Linked DNA regions of Homo sapiens: region 2 is linked to region 1. Evidence: promoter capture Hi-C in human tissues and cell types (Jung and others, 2019). All regions are on one chromosome and are shown on one strand. The core of a region is centred on a gene start or on the middle of the fragment in contact, and the rest is flanking DNA. Distances in the headings are between cores, read along the strand shown. Region 1 holds the start of S100G (S100 calcium binding protein G). Region 2 overlaps CTPS2 (CTP synthase 2).

Region 1 (7,705 bases), core at 1,842-4,341:
TCCAAGTGCAAGTTTACCCTCATGCTTTTAAGTCTATGGGTAAAGAGAAAAATAAGAGACAAGAGATGTGACTGGTAGAAGTGAGCAAGTAAAAACTTAAGAAGCCGCACAGGCTGTTTTTCAAGTTCAAGTTTTGCTAGCATTCGCTACAAGTATAAATTCTGACAATAGGCAGCATTGGGCCCATTCTTTTTTTTTTTTTTTTTTTTTTTTTTTTTGAGACAAAGTTTCGCTCTTATTGCCCAGGCTGGAGTGTAATGGCAGGATCTCAGCTCAACGCAACTTCCACCTCCCGGGTTCAAGCAATTCTCCTGCCTCAGTTTCCCGAGTAGCTGGAATTACAAACATGCACCACCACGCCTGGCTAATTTTTGTATTTTTAGTAGAGATGAGGTTTCTCCATGTTGGTCAGGCTGGTCTCGAACTCCTGACCTCAGGTGATCCGCCCACCTCGGCCTCCCAAAGTGCTGGGATTATAGGCGTGAACCACCGTGCCCGGCCGCATTGGGCTGATTCTAATCAGAAGTTGTCCCTTGAAAGAAGAGATTTGTAGCCTAGAAGACTATTAACCAATACTGCTCCAAAAGTTTTTCTTAGAGATAATTTTTATATATACATACACACGTCATATGTAATATATGGGTGTATTATATAGAACATGTTATCTTTCATCCTATATCGTTACTAAGATGACATATAGTTATTAAAATCATTTCTTCAGATGCAAAAAATAGGCCAGGTGCAGTGGCTCACGCCTGTAATCCCAGCAGTTTGGGAGACTGAGGCGGGCAGATCATTTGAGCCCAGGAGTTGGAGACCATCCTGGGCAACATGGCAAAACCCATGTTGTATTTTTCTACAAGAAATACACAAAATATATATATATGTATCCGGGCATGGTGGCACATGCCTGTAGTCCCAGCTACTCGGGAGGCTGAGGTAGGAGGATCACCTGAGCCCATGGAGGTTGAGGCTGCAGTGAGCTGTGTTCACGCCACTGCACTCCAACCTGAGTGACACAGTGAAGTGGCTTCAAAAAAATAAACAAAAAAACCAGATGCAAAACATAATAAACACCCCATTTGATTTTAGCTCACTAGTGGTAATTTGAGAGAAAAGATGATTTAAGATGCTATTCAACAATTGGAGAGATTTGACGTGGGCTATGATAATGGCATTGTGGTTACATAGGAGAATGTCTTTGTCCTTAGGAGACAGATGCTGAGGTGCTCAGGGGGGAAGCATCTGGATGTTTGTAATTGATTCTCAAATGACTCAGGGGTGGAGGAAAGTATCTGTCCAGAGAAAGAGAAAGCAAATGTGGAGATGTTCGCAATTAGTGAATCTAGTCGAAAGGCAGACTGGTGTTCATTGCACTATTCTTGCCACTTTTCTGTAGATCTGAAATATTTTTTAAAAGATGTTTAAAAAAAGATAGTTCTTGTTATGATTAAGCACAAACGCCTACTTCCTCCCAGGAAAACAGAACATATGTGTAAAAACACTGGCAATTTTCTAAAATCTTGATTAAAATGCATTGCCAAAATCAGAATATTTTTGTGTAAAATCTTATAACTAAAAATAAAATGCCTGTCTTTACTCCAACCAGTGAGTTAATACATATTCTATATTGGTGCATAGCAAAGTCAAAGAATCCATAATAAAAACAAGAAGAATATATACAAGACAGCAAAGACACATGGAATGATAAATGCTCAAGACTGGCGGGAAGCTTTTAAGGAATTCTATTAGATTTCCCATTTGTTCTCCAATGTAAATAAGGCCCTAGAATTTTAGAGCTGAGAAACATCAGGGAGAAATACAGTCCCAATAGTCCAGTCCTCAGTTTGTAGGTGATATAAGGCAGAGTCAGGGAAAATTCTATAAGTGTGGAAGTGTACAAGTGTTTCAAAGCTGTAAAGTGCTCTTAAAATCCACCTGGAACCCCTTCCTGTGAGTTACAATCAGCATTAGATCAATGTCCCTTGGAAATGTCCTACTTATTTCATGGAACTCTTTCCAGTAGAAATCAATCTCCTTGGCAATTTTAAATCATGGCAGTTACAAAAAGTTTGAAGTATTTCCAACTGAACAAGAGTAAGTCGAGTGTTCTCACAAGTTTTTCGAATGATCACGAAATATATTTGGTAAGGAAAAGGATAATGAGAAATAAAAAGCAGACACAGGACCAACAAATAATGAAAGAGCTGAAAAAATGACCATGTTACTCAATATTGATTTGCCAAATAAAACCACAAATTACTGAGTATCTTCTTTCCACTTCTTAAACCTGCTTCTGAAGCAATACTTCCATTCATTCATTCATGTATTCAAATATTTAAGCTGCTAATATGTAAAGACATCAGAAGGACTTCAATGGCCATACCGTAATTTTTTAAACTATGTAATATTGTCCTTCTATGACAGCATTTTTTCTTTTTTACAGACAGGATCTCACTCTGTCACCCAGGCTGGAGTGCAGTGGCACAATCATGGCTCACTGTTGCCTCAACCTCCCAGGCTTAAGGAATCCTCCCACCTCAGCCTCTACAGTAGCTGGGACTACAGGCATGTACCATCACACCTGGCTGATTTTTTAAATTTTTCAGTAGAAATGTCTTGCTGTGTTGACCAGGCTGGTATCAAACTCCTCACCTCAAGCAATCCTCCTGCCTCGGCCTCCCAAAGTGCTGGGATTACAGGCATGAGCTACCGCACAGGGCAGCATTTATTTTTTCTGGATATGAAGAAAGTTATTTTTTAAAGCCTAAATATGCAACTAAATTGAAAAGAATCCTCTATATCTAAGCTTTATGAAATGTGAACTGTGAGCAAATATAATTCTACATTGGAGGGAAAATATAATCTCAGGGGGAAAAAAATCCAAGCTTACGACTCTGAACCATGAAGCAACTGTCGAGATGGACCTTTACTGGATCTTGCCCTTAATTATGGGGTTCATGCAGTCTTAAGCCTGAGTTTCAAAAACCATTAATAATTACCCTTAAATGGCCAACAAAAGGAAATTTTCATAATCAGGGTGGCGTGCCCGTAAAGACTATAAAAGTGTCATGATTCTGCTCAGCTCTTCAAACTCCTCTTTGATTCTTCTAGCTGTTTCACTATTGGGCAACCAGGTTAGTGTGATTTTGGTACTACCTAGAGCTCCTTCTGTTTGCATTAATACTCTGCTTCCTTTTAGAATGGTGTGAAAGATAATGGTCTGGAGAGAAGGTGAGTTTATGCCATCTGGAGATATTCCCTGTAACTTAGAAGCTAGAAGCTGTGGTCAAGTATTCTTCAAGACCACAGCCTGCAGAGTGCAGATCAGGTACATAAAAAGTGTAGAATGTCATTAATTACTAATAAAAATGTTTGGCTCCAGGGACCATCTCCTAACAGATGTACTCTAAGAACAGACATTTAACATACTATCTAAGATGTCTTTTTTTTTTTTTTTTTTTTTTTGCAGCGGAGGCTCGCTCTGTCACCCAGGCTGGAGTGCAGTGGCATCGCACTCACTGCAACCTCCGCCTCCCGGGTTCAAGCGATTCTCCTGCCTCGGTCTTCCAAGTAGATGGGACTATAGGCACGCACCACCACGCCTGGCTAATTTTTGTATAGAGACAGGGTCTCACCATGTTGGCCAGGCTTCCATGGTCTCGAACTCCTGACTTCAAGTGATCCACCCTCCTTGGCCTCCCAAAGTGCTGGGATTACAGGCATGAGCTACCGTGCCTGGCCTAAGATGCTTATTTTTTAAACATGTTAGTAGTTACTGGTGCCATTCCGACCCCGACATTCTCTTTTCCTTATTCTTCCCCATTTATGCCAAGGAAATGGCCCAATGGCACTAAAATCCTGCAGACAACCCTCAGCACAAAACTGTACTTCAGCTTTTTGGTAAGTTTATTTTCTTCCCAATTTATAAGACACCAGAATGAGTACTAAAAAGTCTCCTGAGGAACTGAAGAGGATTTTTGAAAAATATGCAGCCAAAGAAGGTGATCCAGACCAGTTGTCAAAGGATGAACTGAAGCTATTGATTCAGGCTGAATTCCCCAGTTTACTCAAAGTAAGTGGCCATCCGCAGAGCCCACTTAATGGGACTGATGGTGGGAGGGGAGGGAGGGAGGGGAGAGGACTCCGGTAGAGCCTTATAGGGACCGTCGCTTGAGGGAGGACACATGCAGGTGGGGTTTCTTCCCCTTAAGTCAGGCCACATTTCAGAAGGCAAGCTCTCAGAAAACAAGGGCCAAGCCTTCTATCCCTCCTGCAGCCTCAGCACAGGACTCTGCAGGACTAGCCATAATAAATGGAAGCAATGCCAAGTTATGCCTGGAAGACCCACAAGTCACCAAGCAAACCCAATAAGGCCTTCAGCATGGATTCAGTACTTCTGTGCCAGGCTTTAGGAAAACAAAGAGGACTGCAAAATAGTGTTAGCTGGCCTTGGACAGGCTTCATTTGTGTATGTAAAATCCCTCAACAAGACCAACACTTACTTAGCAGTCTGTTAGGAAAACCCACTGACAAATTGCCTTGTCAGCACTCATTTATATTTCAAAAGCATTTACATTTGTGTTCATCACTTAAATTTGTGTTAATGAGGCAACCGTGCATTTCTAAACAACTTTCAAGAAAGGACTAAATTTCCTGGGCCATAAAGTTTCACATCAAAATCACCCCAGAGTTGTCAAAATCAAAATGCATTCAAGGCAACAGAGTACAGAGAAGAGCTGATCGTCCTCACTCCAATATACAGTACTGTCTTTCCTTTTGCTAAAGAAAAAGCTGAGTCAGGACACTTGCCAAGGATGGTAAGGCAACTTACTCCAGGAGGGCCATGGCGACCCATACAGGGACCACTGAAACGTGTTCTTGCCATGGGGAGAGAGATTGGGCTCAACTCCAGAAAGGATAAGTGGGGGTTTATGACCATAGAGCAGGATGGGGGGGGCCAGTGGATGGAAAATTACCAAGGAAATATCCAGGATAAGGAGCTTCTGGCTAAATTGCCTTGATAGGATTCTAGCTGAAGGCAGGCCAGGTGATCAAATATTAAGGGTAGTCAGATACAAGGACAGAGAGGGAAGCCCAAGGTCAGGCCTAGTCGAGCAGAGGACTCAAAGGAGAGAGTCATTGTCATTTTGCAATTAAAAACCATCTTCACAACAGAAGTGACTATGGAATTGTTTTGTATGACTCAGTCACTATTTAGCTCTAACTTCAGGAAAGAACATTTCTTCAAATATTTTAACCAGCTCTCCAGATTTTAACCAGAAATGTCCCTTCTGCCAATATGACAATTGGAAAGACTTCTGTTTTTAATACTAAAAAAGAAAAAAGCTGAATTCAATGACCCCAGAATCTGATATTTTCTCATTTTCTCATAGTTGAAATATAGAAGAACTTGTAAAAACACTTAAAGTCACTAGCAGAAAAAGGGACTTTTTAATTAAACAGCAAAACAAGTTAGTGAAAAAATTTAAAATTTTAAAAGACCCTTTATTTTTTCTAAAAGGAAGAAAAATAATCATCTAACAGGAAAGCCTAGGCCATGTACTCAAACAAGTTGTTTCAAAAGGTAACACGGGTAACTTTTTCTATATTTTATGTCTTTCCTACAAAAAGTACGTAAGACATAATCTGGAACGAGGTAGGAAGACTAATGGTAAGTTCTGAAAGTCTACTTAACATGTACCTGATTATATTCCCATAAGGTTTCCATTACTAAGGTTTTCCACCATACTCTGTTTACATATATCATCACCATGCATGGTTTAGAATCTAGTAAAGGCTTCAGGAAAACAGTGTTTCATATTCATAAATCAAAGGCTGAATAAGTAACTTACAGTTTGGTCTTGTAATTAAAGCAAAGTGCTAAGTGTTTTTGTAGGAATCTTAGGGGTTAAAATATATCTTCCATAGAGATGTGCTGCACAAAATTGTGAATCTACTTAGCACTACTGAACTGTATGCTTAAAAATGATTAAGAGCGTAAATTCAATGTTATGTGTTTTTTACCACAATTTATATATACATATATATATATAATATAGTCTAATTTGAAACTGACAAACTGAACTGTTATTTCAATCGGTTTTCTAAGTAGTATTTTGCACAGATAGACTCCTACCTGAAAGTCCAAGTAGTAATGGCTTTAAGATTAGAGTTTTATGGTAGAGACAAAAATTAACTCCACTTAAGACACTGCAGGAAGTCCAGTAGTCAAAAAGCCTGCACACGATCTCACACGACATCTCAAGCAGTGGTTCTCCAAGTGTGGTCCCAGAGCAGCAGCATTGGCACCACCTGGGAAGCTGTTGAAAATATAGATTCTCCAGCTTGAACAACACAGCAAGACCTTGTCTCTATTAAAACTTTTAAAAAATTAGCCAGGTGTGGTGGCACACGCCTTTAGTCCCAGCTACTCGGGAGGCTGAGGCAGGAGGATCATTTGAGCCCAGGAGGTGGAAGCTGCAGTGGGCTGTGATCATGCCACTGCACTCCAGCCTGGGTGACAGAGCAAGACCTTGTGTACAGATTCTCGGGCCCCACCCCAGGCCTAGTGAATCAGAAACTCTGGAGGTGGGGCTGGCAGTCTGTATTTACTAAGGTCAGCAAGCCTATCGTGTGATTCTGATGCATGCTAAAGCATGGGAACCATTGAGCCAAAGTCATTTTGCATAGCTCAACGTTTGGGAAAAACTGGGCGGTGGTTAGTTAAGGGGTTGAGCTCTGGAGTCAACGTGTGGACCCCAACCCCTCTGTTAACCAGCTGTGGACACTCAAGTAAGTGACTGCCTGTCTCTGAGCCTGTTTCCCCACCTGTAAAGTAGATCTCCCTCATAGGGTGGTCGGAAGGATTACAGAAGGAGCCCTCCCTGCCTGCTGCCTCATGTAATATGTCAGCCCTAGCCCTGGAGCAGGAGACAAACCCAGCTTCCAGGAAAACCTTGGGGCAGGGGTCCTCAACTGTTTGTGTGCCGTGGGCAATCCAGTGAAGCCCACAGATCCCTTCTCAGAAGAATGTTTTTAGAGGCATAAAGAAAAAGACCCAAGATCGCATAAGAAAACAACTGTATTAAAATACGCATTGTATTAAAATAACAGATGTGTGATATGGAGGACAAAAAGGTAGCCAGTTCTATGACACGGAGCAATACAACAGCTAAAGCTGGTTTCTCTCTGTTAGCTATTAGATGCATGTCACTGGAAACCTGAGCTGCCTTCTTGGCACACAGACCCCAAGGCCTCTAATTTCTGAGAATGTGTAGCAGTAACTGATTCATTTTTTCTCCCCTCCCTTCTCCCATCCTTTTTTATGTAAAACAGGGTCCAAACACCCTAGATGATCTCTTTCAAGAACTGGACAAGAATGGAGATGGAGAAGTTAGTTTTGAAGAATTCCAAGTATTAGTAAAAAAGATATCCCAGTGAAGGAGAAAACAAAATAGAACCCTGAGCACTGGAGGAAGAGCGCCTGTGCTGTGGTCTTATCCTATGTGGAATCCCCCAAAGTCTCTGGTTTAATTCTTTGCAATTATAATAACCTGGCTGTGAGGTTCAGTTATTATTAATAAAGAAATTATTAGACATACCTTACTTTGTTAAGTACTGACCTCATAACATAATAGACTTGAAAGTAACCTTAGTCTGATTCAACTAATTCTATAGATTTAAAAAAGAGAGAGAGAGAGAG
Region 2 (7,705 bases), core at 1,678-4,177, 37 kb before region 1:
CCAAAGGAAAATAAATCATTCTACAAAAAAGACACATGCACTTACATGTTCATGGCAGCAGTATTCACAATAGCAAAGCCATGGAATCAACTAGATGCCTATCAATGGTGGAATGGATAAAGAAAATGTGGCACATATATACCATGGAATAGTATGCAGCCATAAAAACGAAACCATGTCCTTTGCAGCAACATGGATGCAGCTGGGGGCCATTATTCTAAACGAATTAACACGGAAACAGAAAACCAAATACTGCATGTTCTCACTTATAAATGGGAGCTAAACATTGGGTACTTATGGACATAAAGATGGGAACAATAGACACTGGGAACTACCAGAGGGAGGAAGGAAAGGGGAGTGCAAGAGTTGAAAAACTATCTGTTGGGTACTCTAGTCAGTACTTGGGTGATGGGATCCATACCCTAAACCTTAGCATCACACAATATAACCATGTAACAAATCTGCACGTGGGCCAAGCACAGTAACTCATGCCTGTAATCCCAGCACTCTGGGAGGCCAAGGTGGGCAGATTTCTTGAGCCTAGGAGCTCGAGACCAGCCGGGGCAATATGGTGAAACCCTGTCTGTACAAAAAATACAAAAATTAGCTGGGCGTGGTGGCGTGCACCTGTGGTTCCAGCTACTTGGGAGGCTGAGATGGGAGGATCGCTTCAGCCCAGGAGGTGGAGGTTGCCATGAGCCATGATAATACCACTGCACTCCAGCCTGGGTGACAGGGTGAGACCCTATCTCAAAAACAAAAACAAACAAACAAAAAAAACTGCGCATGTACTCCCTGCATCCAAAATGAAAGTTGAAATTATTAAAAAAAAAAAAAAAAAGCTCTGCTATAGAAAATGGTAGCCACTAGCCATATGTAGCTACTTAAATTCATTAACATTAATTCAGCATTTGAAACATGTTCAAAGTTACATGTGGCTAGTGGCTACCATATTGGATAGGGTGGACTAGTTCTATCATTGCAGTGAGTTCTATAGGACAGCTCTGATCCCAGAAAAATCCAGTGAGTTCTATAGGACAGCTCTGATCCCAGAAAAATCCAGTGTAGAAATCCTCTACATCTAAGAAGAAACCTCCTTGAATTAGAGGAATATGCAGGTAAGAAAGCCTGATAAGGGGAATGCCACCTTCTCCCAGGAATGTATTCCCTCAAGAAACGCAGAGAAATCATCCGCACTTAGAGAAGAAATTAAGCAATGTAGCTTAAAATTTAAGAGACAATAAATCTTACTGCATAACATCTAGGGACATCTTTGAAAAAAAAGCAGACAGTAACTGTGCTTTTGTATCACTACAGACAGATGCTGAGCAATGTAATCATGTAATAGCCAGGGACAGACTATGTGAATGAATGGATCATTGCTCTGAATCACTTTATCCAAAAAATCCTCTATGCCAATATGAGGAGAAAGTAAAAAGTTTTTATTTTGATGATGTTCTATCAGTTAGATAAAATTATCTTTAAAATAATGCTGTTGATTGCTTTAAACCAAATTCTGACATTATATAATATTAATCTCAAGCTTTGTTGTTCCTCTCAGAACCCTTCAGGAACAGTGGAGATTCGTGGATATGTTTCCAAGGGGTATCTAAGATCAAAATCTTCTGGGGAATTTTCCTTAATAACTGCTTGCAGTCCGCTTTTAAAAACTGCAAGGTTTTATAGCAGCTCTCATTTCCTTTTCAATCCACATGAAATTTGAAAGCCCCAGTGGGAATCTAAATCCTTATGATGAAAGAACCTTCTAAGTATTTGATGACAATAATGACAACCAGAAGAATTAAAAGTGAATAAGTACTTAAACAAAGTAAACAAATAGTAATTTGCTTAAGAAATTTTCTGCCTTCTCACATGCTAGGAAGATTTAAGAGGCTTCAATACCAACAGCGATCCACACTTTAATTCTAAATGATGGGCATTTCCATCAGAAAGACTCCTGGAAATGCGTACTTACTATTCTAATTCAAAACTCTAGGCATGAATTGATCATCTTAGGTAGAACGTGAAAACAAGAGAAACAATGAAATCCCACAGCAGTGGTGGCAGAAGGAGGTAACCAACTGGGTTTGCTCTTGCTGCAAAGGACTAGCTGGATGGCCCTGGGCATGTCATTTAACCTCTTTGCACTCCGGTGTCCTCTGTAAAGTGGGAATAGCATCATCTGCTTTGTTAGTTACATAAGGTATGCAAAGTCCCTAGCAAGAGGTCTAGTGACAAGCATCCAGTAAGTGCACACTGAATGTCCATTGCTTTCCTTCTTTCAGGTCTAGGTAAAATGCTACAACGTTCAAAGGAGCCTTCTTGGACTTCAATTCTCCCCTCTGCTCGGGACTCTGGAAGTACTTGAACAGATTAGAGACAAAAAGGAAAAGAGACAGAGAAAAGGCATTTGAAATGGAGAATAGTGATATGAGCTAAGACGGAGAAAGAAGAGGGAGGTTAGAAGACGCACAGGCAATCCAATTTATCTGGAGCCTAAAGCATATAGGCTGGAAATGCAGGTTCTGGAACATCACGGTACCATTTTTACAGTATCCTGCACACCCTTAGTACTCAATATATGAGAGTGGTTTATCCAACAAATTAGTGTCACACACTGCAGAGTTCTGTTCTTGTTAGGAGGTATTGGAGAAGGGATGGCTTGGAAGCAGGAAGGAGATTGAGGACAAGTGTGAGCTGGAGTTGGCATGCACTGGGACTAGTGTTCTAGGGATGGCAGTGCAATTCTAAACACCAGCTTTCTTTCCAGAGGCAGAATCTGCAGGACTTGACAACACACTGCTAGTTGGGATCTGAAGGGGAAGAAGAGCTAATATGTGAAATTTCTAGCCTGATAGTCTAGGAGAATGGTTCTCCACCAAATGTGCCCCCCAGGGACTTGCCTTTTTTTTTTTAAGATAGGGTCTTGTTCTGTCACCCAGGCTGAAGTGCAGTGGCATGATCATGGCTCACTGCAGCCTCAACTTCCCAGGCTCAACCTCCTACCTCAGCCTCCTAAGTAGCTGGGACCACAGGCACGAACCACCATGCCCAGCTAATTATTTAGTTTTTTGTAGAGACAGGATCTCACTATGTTGCCCACGCTGGTCTCGAACTTCTGGCTTCAAGTGATCTTCCGACCTTCGCCTCCCAAAGCGTTGGGATTACAGGCGTGAGCCACTGCACCTGGCTCTCCAGGGGCATTTGATGATGTCTGGAGATATTTTGGGTTGTCACAACGTGGGAGGTAGGGATGATAGTGGCAGTGAGTAGAGGCTAGGAATGCTGCCAAACACTCTACAACAGGGGTGTCCAATCTTTTGGCTTCCCTGGGCCACACTGGAAGAAGATGAATTGTCTTGGACCATACATAAAATACACTAACACTAATGATAGCTGATGAGCTTAAAAAAAAATTGCAAAAAAATCTCATAATGTTTTAAGAAAGTTTACGAAATTGTGTTGGGCCACATTCAAATCCACCCTGGGCTGCATGCAGCCCACGGACTGTGGGTTGGACAAGCTTGCTATACAGTGCACAGGACAGCCTCCACGACAAAGAATTATTCCACTCCAAATGTCAATCAATAGTGGCAAGGCTGAGAAACCCTGGACAAGGATATTGATGATATCTTAACAGAAACAGGAGAATGAACTAATTGGGAGACCATGTAAATTTAGTTTTAAATAAGTTGAGATGGAAGTGGCAACACAACATCCAAATACACAAACAGGTCAAGGAGGCACGTGAAAATGTTAAATTCAAGTTAGTTAAATGAAGTGTATATGTGTGAGTCTAGCCCAGGAGTTAGCAAATGTTTCTGTAAAGGGCCAATATTCTATAAAAGGTAAATATTTCAGGCTTTGTGAGCCATAAGGTCTCTTTCTTAACTACTCATCTCTGCCATGGTAGCATAAAAAACAGCCATGGGCCAGGTGCAGTTGCTCATGCCTGTAATCTCAGCACTTTGGGAGGCTAAGGAGGGAAGAGGCCTTGAGCCCAGGTGAGACCAGCCTGAGCAACATGGCAAAACCCTGCCGCTACAAAAAAAATTTAAAAATTGGCTGCGCATGGTGGCTCATGCCTGTAATCCCAGCACTTTGGGAGGCTGAGGAAGGAAGAGGCCTTGAGCCCAGGTGAGACCAGCCTGAGCAACATGGCAAAAACCTGCCGCTACAAAAAAAATTTTAAAATTGGCTGCGCGTCGTGGCTCATGCCTGTAATCCCAGCACTTTGGGAGGCCAAGGCAGGCGGATCACGAGGTCAGGAGTTCAAGACCAGCCTGGCCAACATAGTGAAACCCCATCTCTACTAAAAAATACAAAAATTAGCCGGGCATGGTGGAACATGCCTGTAGTCCCAGCTACTCGGGAGGGTGAGGCAGGAGAATTGCTTGAACCTGAGAGGTGGTGGTTACAGTGAGCCAAGATCGCGCCACTGCACTCCAGCTTGGGCAACAGAGTAAGACTTCATCTCAAGAAAAAAAAAAAGTAGCCAGGCAGGGTGATGCACACCTGCAGTCCCAGCTCCTTGGGAGGCTGAGGTGGGAGGATTACTTGTGCCCAAGAGGTCAAGGCTGCAGTAAGCCATGATCATGGCACTGCACTCCAGCCTGGGTGACAGAGCTAGACCCTGTCTCAAAAAAAATAAAAATTAAAAGCAGCCATAGACAAGACATAAATGAATGAGTGTTGCTGTTGTCGGAGCTCAGAAAATACTACCCTAAAGTAGTTTGAACTGAAGGTGACTGGGAAGACCTCCAAAGCAAGAAGGTCACTGTGATGTTTCCCCCGCCTTTCCATGTGAAAGCTGGCTATAAATAAATTATCTGACCTACCTTTCCTGAAAGTAGGTCATAAGACCCTCATTCCAGATGAGTCCTGCTCTAGACCTGGGGGAATGGGATGCTACACAGAAAGGCCAAGAAGAATCTGAGCAGACAGGCCTTTCTGGGTTTCCCTGTCAGTCTATTACCATTAGAGTATGCCCTTTTGCCCAATCACATTGCTACATGGCTGTCCACTGTTCATCAAACCTAAGCATACAAATGAAGTTTTCCCCAAGTCTTTGGGTCTTCATTCCTGAAGACTAAAGTGTCACATAAAACTTTGATTAAATAAATTTGTTATGCTTTTCTCTTGTCAACCTGTCTTGTTATAGGGTTGTTGGTCATGACCCTTATGATGGGTAAGAAGGTCACAGATAACACCTTTCTACCCCTAAACTGTGTTCCAATAAAACTTTATTTATGGATGCAAATTTGAATGGCATACACTTTTCACATGTCACAGACAGTATTCTTTTTTAAATTTTTTTAACCATTAAAAAATGTAAAAATCATTCTCAGCTCATAAGCTGGCTGTAAACAGCAGGCTGGACGTGGTGCACAGGCAGTAGTTTGCCAACCCCTGGGCTAGAACATCAAGACAAAGAGCTGAGACCAGCTGTGACCATGAGCTTACCATGTCCTTGCAAAGCTGACTGAGAAGAACACTGCCTTCTGTCTCATCAATAGTAAATGTGTAGTTTGTGCCTATGTGCTCACGGGTGTTCCAGCCTGGTTACTAACAACAACTTCGGTGTTCTTCCTCAATTCTGATGCCTTTATTTCTGTTCTGTTTGCTCTTAAAAACAACTCTGGGGGCAGTGATTAGTGTTCAGAAGTTAAATGACTGACCCGTGCTTGACCACCCAGCACAGTGGAGAAAGGCAGGAGAGGAGCCAGGTCCCTCAAGCAACAGAAATCAACATCAGTCACCAAAAATGAGGTGGCACTTGGCTATTCTTTCTCAAAAGAGGAGAGCAGGCAGGGTGCCACTCAACAGTGCCACTCTGCCTTTCCCAGAGCACCTAACCTAGAGGCTGGCACAAAGAAGTAGCCTCAGAAAGAGAGGAGTTGGTAAGGAAGCATACTACTTGTAGAACTGGTAGACTTGGAATAATACATCATTTTATGGTGGAGTCAGACTAATAGGCTCCAAAATGATCAGGATTATAAGCAGTCTGTTTTTCTGAGACAAAGTCTCACTCTGTCACCCAGGCTGGAGTGCAGTGACGCGATCTCGGCTCACTGCAACCTCCACATCCTGGGTTCAAGCGACTCTCCTGCCTCAGTCTCCTGAGTAGCTGGGACTACAGGTGCACGCCACCACACCTGGCTAATTTTTGTATTTTTAGTAGAGATGGGGTTTCACCATGTTGGCCAACCTGGTCTCGAACTCCTGACCTCAGGTGATTCGCCAACCTCAGCCTCCCAAAGTGCTGGGATTACAGGCGTGAGCCACCATGCCCAGCCAGCAGTCTGTTTTTTTCATGTACTTTGTAGTTACATATTTGTTTCAAAGGAGAGAAGAAAAGAAAGAATGCAAAAAAAACTGGGTCTCAAATTAGTCTGTGGTCCACAAAAAGGCAAGTTATTGGAAGGTTTTCAAAAATGAAGAGCCCACTTACTTGCCAGTTCAATGATTTCCATCCTGTCTCCATCAACATCCTGACCTACAAAACTTAAGTCATTCTGCTCAAATTGTTTGATCAGGTTAGGGTTTACCTGCAAAACAAGAAATTAAGTGTTTATGGGCCACAGTGCAATACCAGCTGCCATACCAGGTCCTTCATCAGTTGGGTGGGTTTTCCATTTCAGTGATCCTCTAACTAGTAGTTAATGTCTATATTCAATGCTCAAAGCCAATTTTAAACTAATGATGAACCTCAGATATAAAATGTAACCACAGCACCTAAATCTAGGAGGTGCCTTCTATTACCCAAAGGTGAGATTCAAAAAGTAGGCCCTGTAACCCAGACATTCTGACCTGGAACCTTGAGACTAGTTATTTATAGCCATTTCCATGTTTGCTTCTTCCCTTGAGTTATGTGTACTTCCCTATCTCTCCCCGAATCACAAATTTGCTTGAAGATTAAAACTATCCTATTTCCCTTGTGACTAACCCCAATGCTTTCTTTACATGCAGTTACATAAAAGCTCTAAAGAGAAGCTTGGAGCAAGTTTTCTACTAAAATATCCTAATAGATGGCAACTTGATGACCTGGCTTGTGGCCCTTTCTGGCCCCCATCTCACCTTAGCCCTTTCCCAAACCTAAGGACTCCTTTTCAGCCTCTCCTTCAGTGAAAGTGCTTCCCTGTCAAAAGTTAAGGTGGAGTCTCACCTATTCTTTGCAATCTTAACCTCAGAGCTTTTATTCTACATTTTAAAATTATACCAGTTCTCGTATTGTCATTATTTTTCCTTCCTTAACAGCTTTAAGACATAATTCACATACCATACAATTCACCCATTTGAAATACACAAATGATTTTTCGTATATTCAGAGGTGTACAACCATTACCACAACCAACTGAAAAACAAACCCTGTACCCTTTAACCTCATCCCCCAACCCCCCATCACCCTGACCCGATCCCCTGGCAATCACTAATCTATATCCCACATCTATAGCTTTGCCTATTCTGGTCATTTTATATTAATAGAATCATGCAATATGTGGGCTTCTGTATCTGGCTTCTTTCACTCAGCATGATGTTTTCAAGGTTTATCTATGTTGTAGCATAAATCAGTACTTCATTTCCTTCTATGACTGAATAATACTCCATTGAATGAATACACCACATTTTGCTTATCTATTCGCCAGTTGGTAGACATTTGAGTTGTTTCTGCCTTTTTGGCTGTTATGAATATTACTGCTATGAT

What was found. Contacts are between HindIII fragments. The study calls those that stand out against the background at their distance.
Region 2: a contact is called between a fragment that was not itself captured here and the fragment with the promoter of S100G in region 1, in 1 of the 25 tissues and cell types used here (aorta).

Annotation. Positions count from the first base shown.
Region 1 is chrX:16,647,067-16,654,771 of GRCh38, forward strand. It overlaps S100G (S100 calcium binding protein G), which reads left to right and starts at 3,092. Exons shown (of 3, transcript NM_004057.3): 1 at 3,092-3,137; 2 at 3,933-4,075; 3 at 7,339-7,604. The coding sequence starts at 3,941. The coding sequence ends at 7,443. All of the region lies in intron 13 of CTPS2 (CTP synthase 2), which reads right to left. The HindIII fragment of the contact is 15,470 bases long and covers 2,271-7,705 here.
Region 2 is chrX:16,610,699-16,618,403 of GRCh38, forward strand. It overlaps CTPS2 (CTP synthase 2), which reads right to left. Exons shown (of 19, transcript NM_175859.3): 16 at 6,452-6,548. Among named protein-coding and RNA genes, the nearest start is that of MIR548AM, 13 kb to the right of the region's middle. The HindIII fragment of the contact is 4,662 bases long and covers 597-5,258 here.